Regions from separate parts of the Homo sapiens genome. Here all the other regions are linked to region 1. Evidence: promoter capture Hi-C in human tissues and cell types (Jung and others, 2019). All regions are on one chromosome and are shown on one strand. The core of a region is centred on a gene start or on the middle of the fragment in contact, and the rest is flanking DNA. Distances in the headings are between cores, read along the strand shown.

Region 1 (3,678 bases), core at 456-2,955:
GGGAGGAGCCACCCAAGAGCTGCACTCTTGTGCCACAGCTGCCCTGGGGAAACCGGGGAACCCCAACTGGGAAAGGAGGCCCTCTGATCACACGCAGGACCCAAACACTCAGAAATCAAGAACCTCTGCCTCCGAGACAGGCTGGCCCACAGTGCTGGCTGGGCCCCAATGCACCGTCCCTCAGCTCAGGAGGGATGGGCCTGACCTGACGCTCAGGGTTGACATCTTATTTGAACAAGGGTCCCCCGCCATCATGCAGCCTCCAAGGTGCCAAGAGGACTCCCTATGCCCAGGCCTGCCCGGTGCCCACCCTGCTGGTAGGAGCCAGCGGCTCTGGCCAAGTGCACGAGGGTCTCTGTGTTTCCAGAAGGCCCCACACACCCAAGTGCCCCTCACACCTCGTGCCTCCCCCTCACAGGGTGGCCACCTGCACCAGCGTCAGGGCCCAGGGTGCTGTGACCGATGAGACCTCAGCTCAGCCCTCAGGTGCAGTGGCCCTACCCAGCCTGGCCAGCAGACACACACAGGGATGCTCACGGGTGCACCAGGAGCCAGGTGCGGCGCAGCCAACCCTGAGCCTGCAGGGAGACCTGCAGGAAGCCCACCGTGCCCCATGCAGGGGCTCCCTCCAGCACACAGCCCTCACCCCAGCACAGCCAGCAAGGACACGCTCTCCCCAACAGGGTGCTTCGGCGGGAGGTGGGGGAACAAGGGGTCTTCCGAGCAGCCCCCAGCCCTCCCCTCCCATCTGTGCCTCTGTAAGGGGCTCTGGGACGCCCAGACCCTGCCCGCCGCCCACCTGGTGGTGACAAGCTCCAGCAGCCAGTGGGTCCGGACCTGCTTGATGCCGCGGTGAGGGACGGCGCCCACATAGGCGAGGTTGAGCTGCTGGTCCCAGCTGAGGACGTACTGGTCAGCCTGGCTGTGTGGCAGCGGGGGGCTGGGGACAACAAAGGGGCGGCTCAGTCCCGAGCCTCAGCATGGCTGGCAGCGCGGCTGACACACACGTTCAAGCCCAGGACTGCCCGGGCGCAGGATCCAGGCGCTGCCCGTGCGTTCAGTGACTAATAAAATGACCCTTAGGGCCAGGAATGTGGGGAGGTCCCATCTTCATGGGGAACGGCAGCAGCAGTAAGACGAGGGGCCAACGCCAGCCCTGGCCCTGGCCCTGCCAGGAAGGCGGGTACCTCAGCTCTAGGTGGAAGGAATGGGACAGGCAGGCCAGGTCCCGCTGCAGGGCCGTCCACTCCCAGGGGAGACTCCTGGTTTACCTCAAAGAGCAGGATCCCGGGCATCGGCCTGGGCTGCAGGGGGCGGCCCAGGCTCACGCCCCGGCGCCCACTCAGGTGGAGGACCCACCCACAAACACGGCGGGGGGCGGGCCCGGGAGAGCCAGGGCCCCAGAGGAGGGAGCTCCGGTCTCTGAAGCTCTCACAGTGCGCAGTCAGGGGGCGCCCGAGCTCTCCCCGTGCGGCCAGGGGGTCCCGGAGGCCGCGGAGCGCTCACCAGAAGCCTGTGCTCCTCCAGAAGCGCCGCAGGGGCCACAGCGCGCGGGCCGCGTCCACATGCACCAGGTGCGGGGCCTCGGCCGGGGCCACCGGGGGCGCGGCCAGGAGCGAGGCCAGGAGCGCCAGCAGCGCGGCGCGGGGGCGCAGGGGACGCATGGCCACGCGTGCTCGGGGACTGCGGGGCTTCGGGCTGCACTGCCGGTTCCGCCTCCGGGTCGGAGTCTGGGCGCGCACCCCATGTGACCGCCGCCGCGGGGCGGGGCCTTGGTGAGGGGGCGATGGCCGGGTGGGAGGGGTTGGGTGGCCTCGGGGAGCCTCGGGGAGCCGGGAGCACGGCAGGGCTTGGAGCCCCGCTTCCTTGCGGGCCTCAGGGGCTGCTCTGAGGACCGATGACTCGGAAAGCGCTCAGAAGAACGCTTCGCCCGTTGGTGCTATGTGAGTTGAGCCATTACTGTCTTGTTTTTCTCTGTTTTTGTGTGTTTTTGAGACAGAGTCTTGCTTTGTCGCCCAGGCTGAGGTGCAGTGGCGCGATCTCAGCTCACTGCAACCTCCATCTCCGGGGCTTCAGCGATTTTCTCACCCCAGCCTCCTGAGTAAAGCGTGCGCTTTAGCAGGAAGGAGAATTACCCCAGAAGAGCACACTGGGCCCTCCTTACACTTGGCTTCAGATCCATGGATTCAACCAAGCAGACTGAAAATATTGTTTTAAAGCCAAAGCAATACGAAATAATACATATTTTAAAACAATACAGTATAACAGCTATTTACAGAGCATTTACATTGTTTTAGGGACTATAAGTAATCTTGATTTAAACTACACAGTAGGATGTGCGTAGGTAATGTGCAAATACTGTGCCATTTTATATCAAGTACTTGAGCACCTGCAAATTTTGGTATCTGGGAGGGTCCTGGAACCAATACCCCGAGGATACCATGGGACAACTGTAGTACATGTGTAGTCCATGTATGCATGTGTGAATCCAAGCAAACATTGTATAAAAATAATAATGGAAAGAACAGGCTTGGTGCGGTGGCTCACACCTGCAATCCCAGCACTTTGGAATTGCAGGCCAACACGGGAGGATCACTTGAGGCCTGGAGTTTGAAATCGGCCTGGGAGATGTACCAAGACCCCATCTGTACAAAAAAAAAATTTAGCCAGATGCGATGGTATATGCCTGTGAGGCCCAGCTACCCACGAAATTGAGGTGGGAGATTGCTTGAGCTTAGGAGTTCAAGGCTGAGACGGGCCATGATCACACCACTACATTCCAGCCTGGTTGACAAAATGAGACCCCATCTCTAAAAAAAGAAAAGAAAAAAAGAACAGTCTACTAACAAAACGAAAATACTGGACAATAATCCTCTCTAAGTTGGGAGAAGGATAATTAGAGTTACAGTGTTCTGGGTCTTTTTATTTTGGGGAGAGGGGTTAAAATATTGCTTAACATTAGGTCTTCTTATGTTGAAATTGCATTAAAAGTGATTAGCCATTTAAAAGTGAAATAGTGTGTATATATTCCAAATTAGCAAGGAGGAAAAACATAATACAAAAAAATTCATTAAGAAACTAAAAAGTAAGAAAGGGAGGGAAAGGCGAGAGAAACCATGCAAGTACAGAACTGTCTCCAGGAACAGCGGGGTAAGACCCTCAGTCCAACGACCCCAGAGAAAACAACTAAAATGATGGATAACTCGCTTTAAAAACAATTCCTCAAAGCGTCAGAGAACTGAGAAAAACAGTAAGAAACCACCAGTCCCACACCGTGGTGCAGGACACAGCAATGGAAACTGAATTGTTTCAGACCAGCCGCCTCCTGAGAGCAACCATCAGAACTGGAGAGCGCTGAACGGAACCGTCCAGGGCACTGGGAGCTCTGAGGAGCCTCTGAGGCCTCGGGGCTCTGCAGGGACAAGCCGGGAGGGGGCGGGGCCCGCTTTGGGGCGGCGACTCCACACCCCTGCAGCGTATCCCAGCCACACAAGACATGGCGACACGCTGCTGCGTTCGTTCCTCACACTGTGGCCACAGGACAGAAGTCGAGGCTCAGGCGGGGGGCCTGGTAAAGACTTTGGGTTTTTCTTGGGACCCCAAAGTTCTATCCCCTAAAAGCAAAGGTAAACCAGCAACAGAATTGTCTTTGTGGGGACTGAAGCCAGCCTTAAATCA
Region 2 (3,455 bases), core at 392-2,891, 730 kb before region 1:
TTGCCACTGGTGTCCCCTTGACCGCAAGGGGGTCCATTCAGTTGTTGGGGGCTTAGGATTTTAATTTTTTTTGAGACAGAGTTCTGCTCTTGTTGCCCAGGTTGGAGTACAGTGGTGCAATCTTAGCCCACTGCCTCCCGGGTTCAAACAATTCTCCTGCCTCAGCCACCCGAGTAGCTGGGATTACAAGCATGCGTCACCATGCCAGGCTAATTTTGTATTTTTAGTAGAGACAGGGTTTCTCCATGTTGGTCAGGCTAGTCTCGAACTCCCAACCTCAGATGATCCTCCCGCCTCGGCCTCCCAAAGTGTTGGAATTACAGGCATGAGCCACCGCGCCCTGCCAGGATTTTATTTTTAGTTTACAGTGTTGAGGGTTATGGGATGCCCAGGGCCTGGGGAGGAAGGGGACAGGATGTGTCCGTCCTAGTCTGAGGATGACTTTTTTGAGTTCAAAAGGGGGCGGTGGACGCACCAAGGCACAGTCCTGAGGGCAGCAGGTGCAAAAGTCCGGCCCTCCCAGAGGTGTAAGGCCTTAGAGGGATCCCAAGCATCCCTGGGGCTCAGCCTCCTGGACCTGACCCCACTGCCCACTCTTTTGGCTGGTTCCACTCTCCCCTGCATCCCTCACGTTGTCCCCAACAGGAAGCTGTGGGAACCTGTTCTCAGGTGTAGTGCACCCGTTGGGGTTCTAGTTGGCTGGATCCGCGGGGCCGTCAGCTGCAACTGTGACGGCGGGGAAGCGGGACGGGATGGTGCGGATCTACAGGACCTCGCCTCCAGGTGGAACCTACCTGCTGAGCCAGGGATTCTTCAGGATACAAACCCAGTCAACTCCAGGCAGAGGGTGGGAGCGTCATGCACCGGCGACACAGTGGAGGACGTCATGGACGGGCAGGGAGGCAGCGGCAACCGAAACTAGCGGCTCAGTCGGTGGCCGGTGTGCGGTCAACGGCCAGGGCAGTGGGACCGGAAAGACTCAGTGTAGTTGTCAACTGTTGCGACCTAAAAGGTTACTCCAAAACTTTAAGCGGCTCAAAACAATAGACGGCGCGTACGGGGCCTGCAGCGGCCACGGGACCGTGGGAAGCAGTCAGTACCCGCCACAGGCCGCGCCTTCCGGGTTCCGGGTTCCGGGTTCCCGCCAGGGAGGAGACACGCCCCCACCTGGGCAGGAACCAAGCAGAGCCGCGCTCCACCCAGGCCGGAACCAATGGGAGATGCGCCACGACCCAGGCCGAGAAACGTGCCGCTTACCCTTCCCCCACGACCTGCGCCGCGTCGCGCGCGGCCGAATCTCCCGCCAAAGCTGCCCCCGCCCGCCAAGGCGCGACCTATCAGCGTCGCAGAGGCCCGCGGCGGCCCGGCCGCCTCAATCCCGCGGGTGGGGGCAACCTTTTCCTCAGGCCTCTCCTCAGCCCACGGCGTCCATCTGGCTCCCGAGCCGAGGGCCGGGCAGTCGGGCTTCGCGGCTGCCCGCGGTCCCGAGGCCTCGCCCTAGCCCCAGTCGGCTCGCGAGGCGCGCACAGCTGAGTGGACCCCTGCGGCGTGGCCCGATGGTCTCGCCCGACCCGGCGCGCGCGGGAGGCCGAGGGGCGGGGCCCGGCGCCCACATAAAGGCGGTTGGGGGCGGGGCGCGCAGAGCTCGTGAGCGCCGGCGCGGGGACGCGGGTTTCTGCCTCAGGCCCTGCCCTGCTCTACTCTGCGCTCTCTGCCCGCGCCGCCGCCGCCTCAGCCTCGGCCCTGCGCTGCGCGCCCGGCCCGTGCTGCCATGGCCTGCCGCCCGCGAAGCCCGCCGAGGCATCAGAGCCGCTGCGACGGTGACGCCAGGTGAGGCCGGGCTGCGCGGCGGGCGAGGGAGCGCGTGCCCCGTGGGGCGGGGGTTGTGCGGGGCCGGGGTGTGGGAGGGCGGAGGTTGTAAGGCGGTCCCGAACCTCCCGTGCCCAGCCGACCGCGTCCCTCCCCGCAGCCCGCCGTCCCCCGCGCGATGGAGCCTGGGACGGAAGCGCAGAGCCGACGGCAGGCGCTGGAGGCCCGAAGACGCCGAGGAGGCAGAGCACCGCGGCGCCGAGCGCAGACCCGAGAGGTGGGCGCGGGACCCGGGGGTCGGGGCGCGGTGGGGCCCTTGACGAGGCCGCGGGCTCCAGGGACCTCGTCGCGCTCTCGCGGTGCCGGGATCGGTCAGGTCGGCACCCTGCGTCCTTTTATCTTGGTCTCCGCGCGGCCCGTGGACTGGGGCGGCCGCAGCAGGCCTGGGAGGCGCTGGAACACTCCGGAAGCCTCTTGCCAGGATGGGAGTCAGCTGAACCGGCGTCAGCCCGAGTTAGCCAGTTCGAGTCTGTGTTGTGCTCCCGGGAGAGGTCAGGGTCTCTGACGAGCTTCTCGTGAACACGTGGAAGTCAGGGACACCCGAGTCCCGAGGAGAAGTGAGTTGACAGGGCTTACCTGCTTGGCCATTTTCTGGGTTAGGCAGTGTGCAGGGAGGGTGGAGATGCGAGCGAAAGGAGGGCTTGATGGGGTGGGACGGCCGAGGAGGGTCTGGAGGAAATAAGCAGGGGTGCCAGTGGTCGTAGTGGCGGGGCTTTTCGGGGCTGTGGTTAGAGAAAACTTCTCGAGGGGCTTTGGGGTGGCTCGTCCCGCACTGGGGGCTTGTTGCTCCTGAGTTCCCTGAAAGGCGTGGTGACTTGGCCGAGATGGAGCAGTGAAGGTGGAGGGAAATGCGTGGTTCGGGATAGGCTTCTGAAGGCAGGACCTGTGAGACTTGCTGATGGGTTGGGGATGGGAGGCGTGAAAGGAAAAAAAAAAATCGGACCCAACTTCACTGTGCCAAAAGGAAAAAATTATGCTGAGCGCGGAATCATGCAAGAAACTACCTTTGCGTTACTTTTTTTTTTTTTTTTTTTTTTTTAAAGACAGGGTCTCACTCTGTCTCACAGGCTGGAGTGCGGTGACGCGATCTTGGCTCACTGCAGCCTCCCCCTCCCGGGTTCAAGTGATTCTCCTGCCTCAGCCTCCCCAGCAGCTAGGATTACAGGCGCATGCCACCGCGCCCGGCTAACTTTTTGTATTTGTAGTAGAGACAGGGTTTCACCATGTTGACCAGACTGGTGTCGAACTCCTGACCTCAAGTGATCCACCCACCTTGGCCACCCAAAGTGCTGGGATTACAGGTGTGAGCCACCGCGCCCGGCCACCTTTGTGTTTCTTTTTTTTTTTCTAAGCAGATACCTACAGATACAAGATTAAATATCTCCACGGGTGAACTCTGTTCACTTTAAGTGGCGACTTACTGAGCACACTAGGAATACATAATTGACTATTCCCCTACCTGCTCCTTTTCTCTTGGAACATGTAGATCTTTCTCCTTCAACCTACTTTTCTCTTTTAAATATTGAAGCCCTGACAGTCATCTCTGGAGAAAGGCACAGACCACAGACTCTTTCTGTAATTTCGTG
Region 3 (3,504 bases), core at 270-2,769, 650 kb after region 1:
GGCTAAGCTCTAACTGATTCCTGAGCCCATAAAGGCAGAGGAGATTAGGATCAGGTGGTCCAAAAGCCTGGGTGGGTGAAGAAAACAGATTCCTGCTACAGATCTGGGGTTAAAATGAACCAGGAGTCTTCTGGGCACTGTGTGTGTTCTTGGGAGAAAAACCTAGGAGCAAAGCTGCCATGGGCACAATTCCTGAGGGTAGAACCCTGTCCTGGGACAAGTGTGGCCGTGCGAATGCCCAATGGGCGGGCTCAGGAGTGGGTTAGCATTGGGTGGGGGCTGGCAGCAGGGTGCAGGGAAGGGATGTTTCTCAGAACTCCTTTCCTCCAAGTTCTCAGCGCCCTCTCTCCCCGGGAGGAGACCTGGAGGAACAGAACAGTGCGCAGCAGGACAGTGCATGTGCAGAACCCGGCTGGTCTCCCGCGGACACCTGCGACTCCCTCCAGCCCAGGCTCAGCCATGTCTTTCTTCTGACAGGAAACGTGAGGAGTTTGCTCAACACCAGTCAATGCTCCGACCCCAACGGGCTGTCCAACAACTCACTAACGACACCACCCGGAGTCAGCACAGACCCCACAAGCTCAGCGCTCTTCCCGCAGCTGCCCCCCTGCAGACGCCAGTCCCTGCCTCTGGACACCCGTCTTCATTTCTGAACACCTGTCTACAAACCAGGGGCCCACACCCTCCTCAAGTTCAATAATATGACAGAACTACTCACAGAACTCAGCGAAGCGCTGTGCGCGCCCACACTAGCGTATTCTAAAAGATGCCACTCAGGAACAGCCACGCGGAGGAGGCGCACAGGGCAAGGAGACTGGTGGGCAAGTTGGAGCGGGCGGGTGATTTGCTTCGCTTCCTCACACACCTCACAAAAGCTTTTCCTTCAAGACCCGCTGGCAGCCCCCAAACCACGAGCCACGGCCGGCGCTGTCCCATTAATGAGTCCCCATTTGCTCACATGAACTCTGTTTTGATGGGGCCTCGATCTCATTCCGAACAGGGTAAAGCAGGGACGGGATCCCCAGACCACAGCTTCTCCCACAGCTCCTCCCACGCCGGCATCGCGCACGCCGCGCGGGCGGCTTCCAGATAAGCTACTCCTCACCCCACAGCCTGGGGAAGGTGCGGGGCTGCGGGCGCAGAGCTGCACAAGGAGGGCTGCAGGCTGGGCCAGAGCCGCTGTGCGGGGACCGACAGGAGCCCAGGTCCCTCACCGGAGGGTACTGAGGCCCCAGGGCTGAGCGGCGGCAGCGGGGACTCCGTTCGCAGACTCGGTCCCGCCGCCATTTCCCGCCAGCTCCGATGAGACCTCCTCAGCCTTGGGACGCCCTGCCCCGCACACTCACCATTTCCCCACTTCTGAAGTATTCGGGAGTCTTAGCTACCAATCATCCAATACCCGCAGGTCACAGAGCGACGGAGGCTGAGCTGTGGCCGAATCACCAAGGCCTCCCACAACTGAGAACGCAGAGAGATGAAGCCCCTAACCCGCGGTCTGGTAGTAGCCAGACGCAAAGACCCGCGCCACATCCCGGAAGCCACCGCCTCCTCTCTGGCTGCGTGCCTGATTGGGCAGTTTTCACTCCAGTGCGCTGATTGGATACGGCTCCAATCTCCCCGCCATCAGACCTTGAGTGACAGAAGTTGCAACCACATACTCCACGGAATGTGGCGAGAGTGACAGCCGGGGGGCCTCCAGGCAGTTTCAGGCGGGGCTTTCTCTTCGTGCTTGGCCTGGCACAGCCCAGGGGTCATTTTTTAACCTTGTGATGTGTAAGGTGACGTCCATTTAGAAATTATACACGCACGCACACACACAGACATATACGCGCGCGCGCACACACAGACGCGCGCACGTACGCAGTCTCACATAAACATACAAAAGTCACAGACACACACACACACACACGCACGCACCCACGCACGCACAGCCCATCCTTCCTCCAAGGCTCGCGAATCATCTCTCCACAAATCCTGCCTTCGGGGCCGCAGCCTGCAGGCCGACCTCAGTCCGTCCTCACAGAGCCTAGTTGGGTGCACAGCTCTCCCTGACGCGCGAGGAGCAGGTTCACGGGAGTCGGTCGCGCATCCCCAGCGCCCTGCGGGCCTCGCACCGGCTGTGGCGGTGACCCCGGTGAGGAGGGCTTTGGTGCGGGTCACCGTTGCTGAGGACACCCTCCTCCCCCGGAAGCGCGGTCCTGGGGGTCTGGGGGGCGGGTCCCTGACCGCTGTAAACAATAGGTCGGTGGTGTCCACGCAGCAGGCAGCAAATTCTCAGGAAGTGAGCGTCCCGTCTTTGGCTTCACCTTCGTGTCTGTAGAATGGGGGTGAGGGGACTCAGGACTCGGAGCGCTGTCGGGCGGGGCGAGGTGGGCTGAGAGTGTGTCTCCCTCCCCAAGCTCACCCGGAGCTGTGCGGGGCGGGACCGCCCCAGGACCCTCGGTTCCCAGGAGCTCCTGGGGGCCCCGCCGCCCCCACCCCAGGCCGCGCTGCGCAGCCCCAGTCCCCGCCGGCCCCACCGCGCGGTCGCTTTGAGGTCGGCCGGGGTCTGCCCGGCGATGGCGACGCTGCAGCCGCTGGAGCCGGGGCCACCGGGGATCTCGGCGGGACCTGGCGGCAGCGAGGACGCGGACCCTGGAGAGATGGGAGGGGCGCGCCCCGAGCCCGAGCCCCACCCGGACCCGGCTGCCGTCGGCCTAGCCAGGGCCGGGGCGGACACCGTCGAGGACGAAGCCGGGCCCGCGCCCCTGGGCGACCCGTTGAGCCGCGGAGCCCCGCGGGGTGGAGCCGGGCCAGGCCCATCCGCTCCGGGCGCGGGCAGCTGGCGTCGCGGGTGGGTCAGAACCCAGGACACGCCCAGGAGTCCGACCTCATGGCGCTGCAGGGCCTGGGGAGTGGGGGCTGGGGACAGCGCCAGGGCCAACCCGACGCCAGCACCCCCGGCAGACCCCAGGAGCCGCCTGTGAAGAGACTGGATAGGTGCATTAAGCGATCAGAAAAGTCACTGGCTGGCCCTGTTGATGAGCAGAACGCTTTCAGAGAAGTGTATGCTCACGCAGTGCTTGGACAGCATTCGCGTAGTTTGACACTTGTCTGCTTGGGCGGATAGATGCTCACACACATAAGTTTGTTTTGTAGTTATGCAGGATTGCACTGTGGCTAAGTACACAGACTCTGGGTGCACATCCCAGCTGCTCTGCTATTTCCAGCTGTGTGACCATGGGGAAGTTACTTGCCTGTGCTCAGTGTCCTCTGTAAAGTGAAGATAGCAGTACCTGCCTCATGGAGTCCCTTAAGTGAGTTAATAGTGTAACATGTTATGGCGTCATGCACACAGTCACCATCGGTAAATATAGTCTATTATGCCTGAACCCCAGAGGAGCACATGTCCTTGAAAAGTCTAAAATTCAGGACTCTAAAATCCAGACTGTGAGACCCTGGAATCCTCCAGCAGCATTCTAACGTCTCTTGGCAATTGTATGCTGCTTCCCAGGGCTGGAAGGT
Region 4 (3,536 bases), core at 710-3,209, 750 kb after region 1:
AAATATGATTAATTCTCATTGTAAGTATAGCTGTAGGCCATTTGGTTTTGTTTATGCCACTAGCACCATCTGCCAAGACACCAAGGAGGATTCATAATGTCCTGTGTCTCAGGTGAAAGGACTTTAGATGTTGCTCCTCTCTGTAGTCTCCTAATTAGCCCCTTGCACACATCTATCATGATGTGGAAGAAATCCTGCACATGCAGGAACCGACAGAAACATCCATCTGTGCCCCTGGATGTAGGCTTGCCGATATTTATTTAATGGTGGATCTTGATGTGGCACTATCATCTGGCTCCCAGTCCATGAAACCAAAGTCCAGAAGCAGTTTTTCCTAACCTGGGACCTGCCAAAAAACACACCTATATGTGCCCCTGTAGGCATGCTGGCTGACTTTATTCCCACTGTGAATCTTGAAGCAGTCCTAAAACCCAGCTCCAGTCCCAAAACCTACCTCCAGTCCCAAAACCTACCTCCAGTCCCTGTCAACTAAAGTCTGGGAGCAGTCCTGCCCACCCAGGAATCTGGAGGGAGAAATGCCGTGAACCCAGAAACAAACCTGAAGACTTTGGTCTCAGCTGTGTATCCTGAAGCAGCCCTATGAATCAGTTCCACACCCTCTCAGCTGTGACCAAGGGTCAGTACTTCTCATCTAGGAATCTGTCCAATGACTGGGTTAGAAGATTTCTAAAAACCCAGCAAGAGCCACACAGCAGAAGCCATACCTGCTCACATGGATTATATCAGCTCTGTCATCTGCATATACAACTGGAGACTTTTTTTTCTCAGCACCAGTCTTACTGATCAAGATCCTGAAGAAAGTTCAGTCTTCCTAGAAAATAGACAGAATCCACAACAGTCTGATGCCCTAATAACAGGTCTGCCAAGCATGAACTTCACTGTGATCCAGATCCAATGCACCTTACTGCAAACTCACTGGAAATCTCATCAGCACAGAGATCCAATAGGAGAAAATATTTACCACCCCAAACTAATCTATAATGACTGCAAGAGATATTTACTCCTTCAGATGCAAGGACATAAAAACAAGGCATCACAGACCATGAAAGATCAGGCAAATGTAACACCACCAAAAGAAACTAAAAATTCTCTAGTAACCACTTACAGTAAAACACAGATCTAAAAAATGGCTAAGAATTCAAAATAATTATCTTAAAGAATCTCAATGAGATGCAAAAAAACCACACATTACTAAATTTTTTTTGCAACAACGTATGAACAGAATCACAATTATAATAAAGAGAAACCATTAAAACAGAACCAGTTAGATATGCTGGAGCTGAAGTACACAATAGGAGATCTAAAATATTTAAGAGAAAGCTTTAACAGGAGACTCCGTTATACAGGAAAAAAAAAATCAGCAAATGTAAAAGTTATTTGAAAGTTCCTAGTTAGAATTTAAAAAAAGAATGCGAGTGAATAAAGCATTTGTCCCCCATATTTCATAATCAATGGTAAGGATGTACAATTTTAGGAGGTTCATGAGAAAGAAAAAAATTTTTAAATTGTTTAAAGATATAATGTCTTAAATTCTTCCCAATCTTGGAAGGAATATAGATATTAAATTTAAAAGCTCAAAATGTCTATAGCAAGAAGAATCTAACAGAAATTGTCCAGAACACATTATAATTAAACTGCCAAAATTCAAAGACAAACAAAAAAGAAAAAAAAAAGAAAGAATGAGTAATACCCAGTATGAGTATAATAATTTAGTTGCACATTTTAAAATAACTAAAAGAGCATAATTGGATTGTTTATAACCCAAATTATAAATGCTTGAGGGGATGGATATACCCCATTTTTGATTATGTGATTGTTACACATTACATGCCTGGATCAAGACATCTCATGTGCCACACAAATATATACATGTCCTACATACTCACAAAAATTAAAATTAAAAAAAGAAAACCCTTTACCTGGGGTTTGCCTGCAAAACCTAAAATAAAGAGTAAAAAGTAAAAAAAAAAAAAAAAAAGCAAGAGAAAAGAGATTCTTCACATTCAAGGGAACTCCTATAAGGTTATCAGCAGATTGCCCAGCAAAAACCATGCAAGCCACACAGGAGTGAAACCATATATTTAAAATGCAAATGAAGGAAGAAAAAGAAAAAACCTTGACAACTAAGAAGACGATACCTGACAGAGCTGTTCTTTAGAAATGAAGTATCAAAATCTTCTCAGATTAAAAAAAAGTTGAAAGTTTTAATCACTAGACCTGACTTACAACAAATGCTAATGAGAATTTAAGTTGTAATGGAATCCAAACTTACAACAAAATTATAAATCTTACTGAAAATCATATATACATAGTCGAATTTAGAAGGCTATAAAACTAATTATGGTGAATGAATTAATCACATTTAACTCTGGTATAAAAGCTACAAGAAAAAATTATTAAGACTACATATAGCTTCAATAATTTGTTAAAGGGTATACGATATAAAAAGATGTAGAGTGTGACATAAATACTATGTTGAAGGGAGTAAAATTGTTTAATTTTTCTATACATAGAAGCTAACTTTTGCTTGAGGCCAGGAGTTCAAAACTAGTCTGGTCAATATAGCAGGACCCTGTCTCTTAAATAAGTACATAAATAAAATTAAATAAAGATCTCAGAAAGCTATTTAGTCTTTTAAAAAAAGAAGCAGCTGGGCCTGATGGCTCATGCCTGTAATACTAGCACTTTGGGAGTCCAAGGCAGGTGGACTGCTTGAGCCCGGGAGTTCAACACCAGCCTGAGCAACTTGGCAAAACCCTGTCTCTACAAAAAATACTAAAAAAATTAGCCAGACATGGTGGCATGTGCTTGTAGTCCCAGCTACTTGGGAGGCTGAGGATTGCTTGAGCCTGGGGAGGTCAAGTCTGCACTGAGCTATGAATGTACCACTGCACTACACTGGGTAACAAAGCAAGACCCTATCTATACAAACCAAAAGCTAAATTCTTATCTGAAATTAGATTTTATAACTATGAGATGTTTTACATAAGCTTCCTGGAAATTACAAAAAAAACTGTAGTGGTTACACACAAAAGAAAAAGAATGCATATAACAACAAAAACAACAAAAATTCAAGAAAATACAGGGGAAGACAGCATGAAACAATGAAAAAACAAACTACTAAATGGTCAGAAAACAGTAAGAAAATGGCAGTAAGTTCTTATCAATCAGTAATTCATTTAAATATATAAAGATTTAGTTATCCAATAAAAACACATTGCTATAGTTTGAGCGTCCCCTCCAAAATTCATGTTAAAATTTAACTGACATTGTGAGAAAATTAAGAAATGAGGCCCTTAAGAGTTATTAGGTCATGAGCACTCTACTGTCATGAAAGGATTAGTATCAGTATTACCACAGTGTATTAGTCATCATGAGAGTGGGTCTATTATAAAAGTGAGCACTGGTGTACACCTTCTGTCATCCTCAACCCTTTGGTCATGTTGTGATGTGGAAATGTGATTCTCATCAGATGGGAATGACATGCTCTTGGACTTCTTGGCATCCAGGAGTCT

Evidence for each region. The method cuts DNA at HindIII sites, captures the fragments that hold promoters and counts their contacts. A contact is called where the count stands out against the background at its distance.
Region 2: the fragment with the promoter of SLBP here is called in contact with the fragment with the promoter of IDUA in region 1 in 1 of the 25 tissues and cell types used here (dorsolateral prefrontal cortex).
Region 3: a contact is called between the fragment with the promoter of ZNF141 here and the fragment with the promoter of IDUA in region 1, in 1 of the 25 tissues and cell types used here (lymphoblastoid cells).
Region 4: a fragment that was not itself captured here is called in contact with the fragment with the promoter of IDUA in region 1 in 1 of the 25 tissues and cell types used here (lymphoblastoid cells).

What each region holds. Positions count from the first base shown.
Region 1 is chr4:985,071-988,748 of GRCh38, reverse strand. It overlaps IDUA (alpha-L-iduronidase), which reads right to left and starts at 1,705. Exons shown (of 14, transcript NM_000203.5): 1 at 1,507-1,705; 2 at 800-940. The coding sequence starts at 1,664. It overlaps SLC26A1 (solute carrier family 26 member 1), which reads left to right. Exons shown (of 3, transcript NM_022042.4): 3 at 1-1,092. RefSeq lists silencers at 1,239-1,416, 1,199-1,848 and enhancers at 2,059-2,118, 3,294-3,343. The HindIII fragment of the contact is 27,782 bases long and covers 1-3,678 here.
Region 2 is chr4:1,710,505-1,713,959 of GRCh38, reverse strand. It overlaps SLBP (stem-loop histone mRNA binding protein), which reads left to right and starts at 1,641. Exons shown (of 8, transcript NM_006527.4): 1 at 1,641-1,830; 2 at 1,970-2,086. The coding sequence starts at 1,772. RefSeq lists an enhancer at 805-1,094 and silencers at 1,225-2,134, 2,145-2,264. The HindIII fragment of the contact is 8,102 bases long and covers 413-3,455 here.
Region 3 is chr4:335,829-339,332 of GRCh38, reverse strand. It overlaps ZNF141 (zinc finger protein 141), which reads right to left and starts at 1,519. Exons shown (of 4, transcript NM_003441.4): 1 at 1,347-1,519. The coding sequence starts at 1,349. RefSeq lists enhancers at 1,670-1,769, 814-1,774, 1,880-2,395 and silencers at 2,410-2,519, 2,750-2,809. The HindIII fragment of the contact is 20,671 bases long and covers 1-3,504 here.
Region 4 is chr4:236,096-239,631 of GRCh38, reverse strand. It overlaps the pseudogene ZNF876P. Among named protein-coding and RNA genes, the nearest start is that of ZNF732, 68 kb to the left of the region's middle. The HindIII fragment of the contact is 5,262 bases long and covers 1-3,536 here.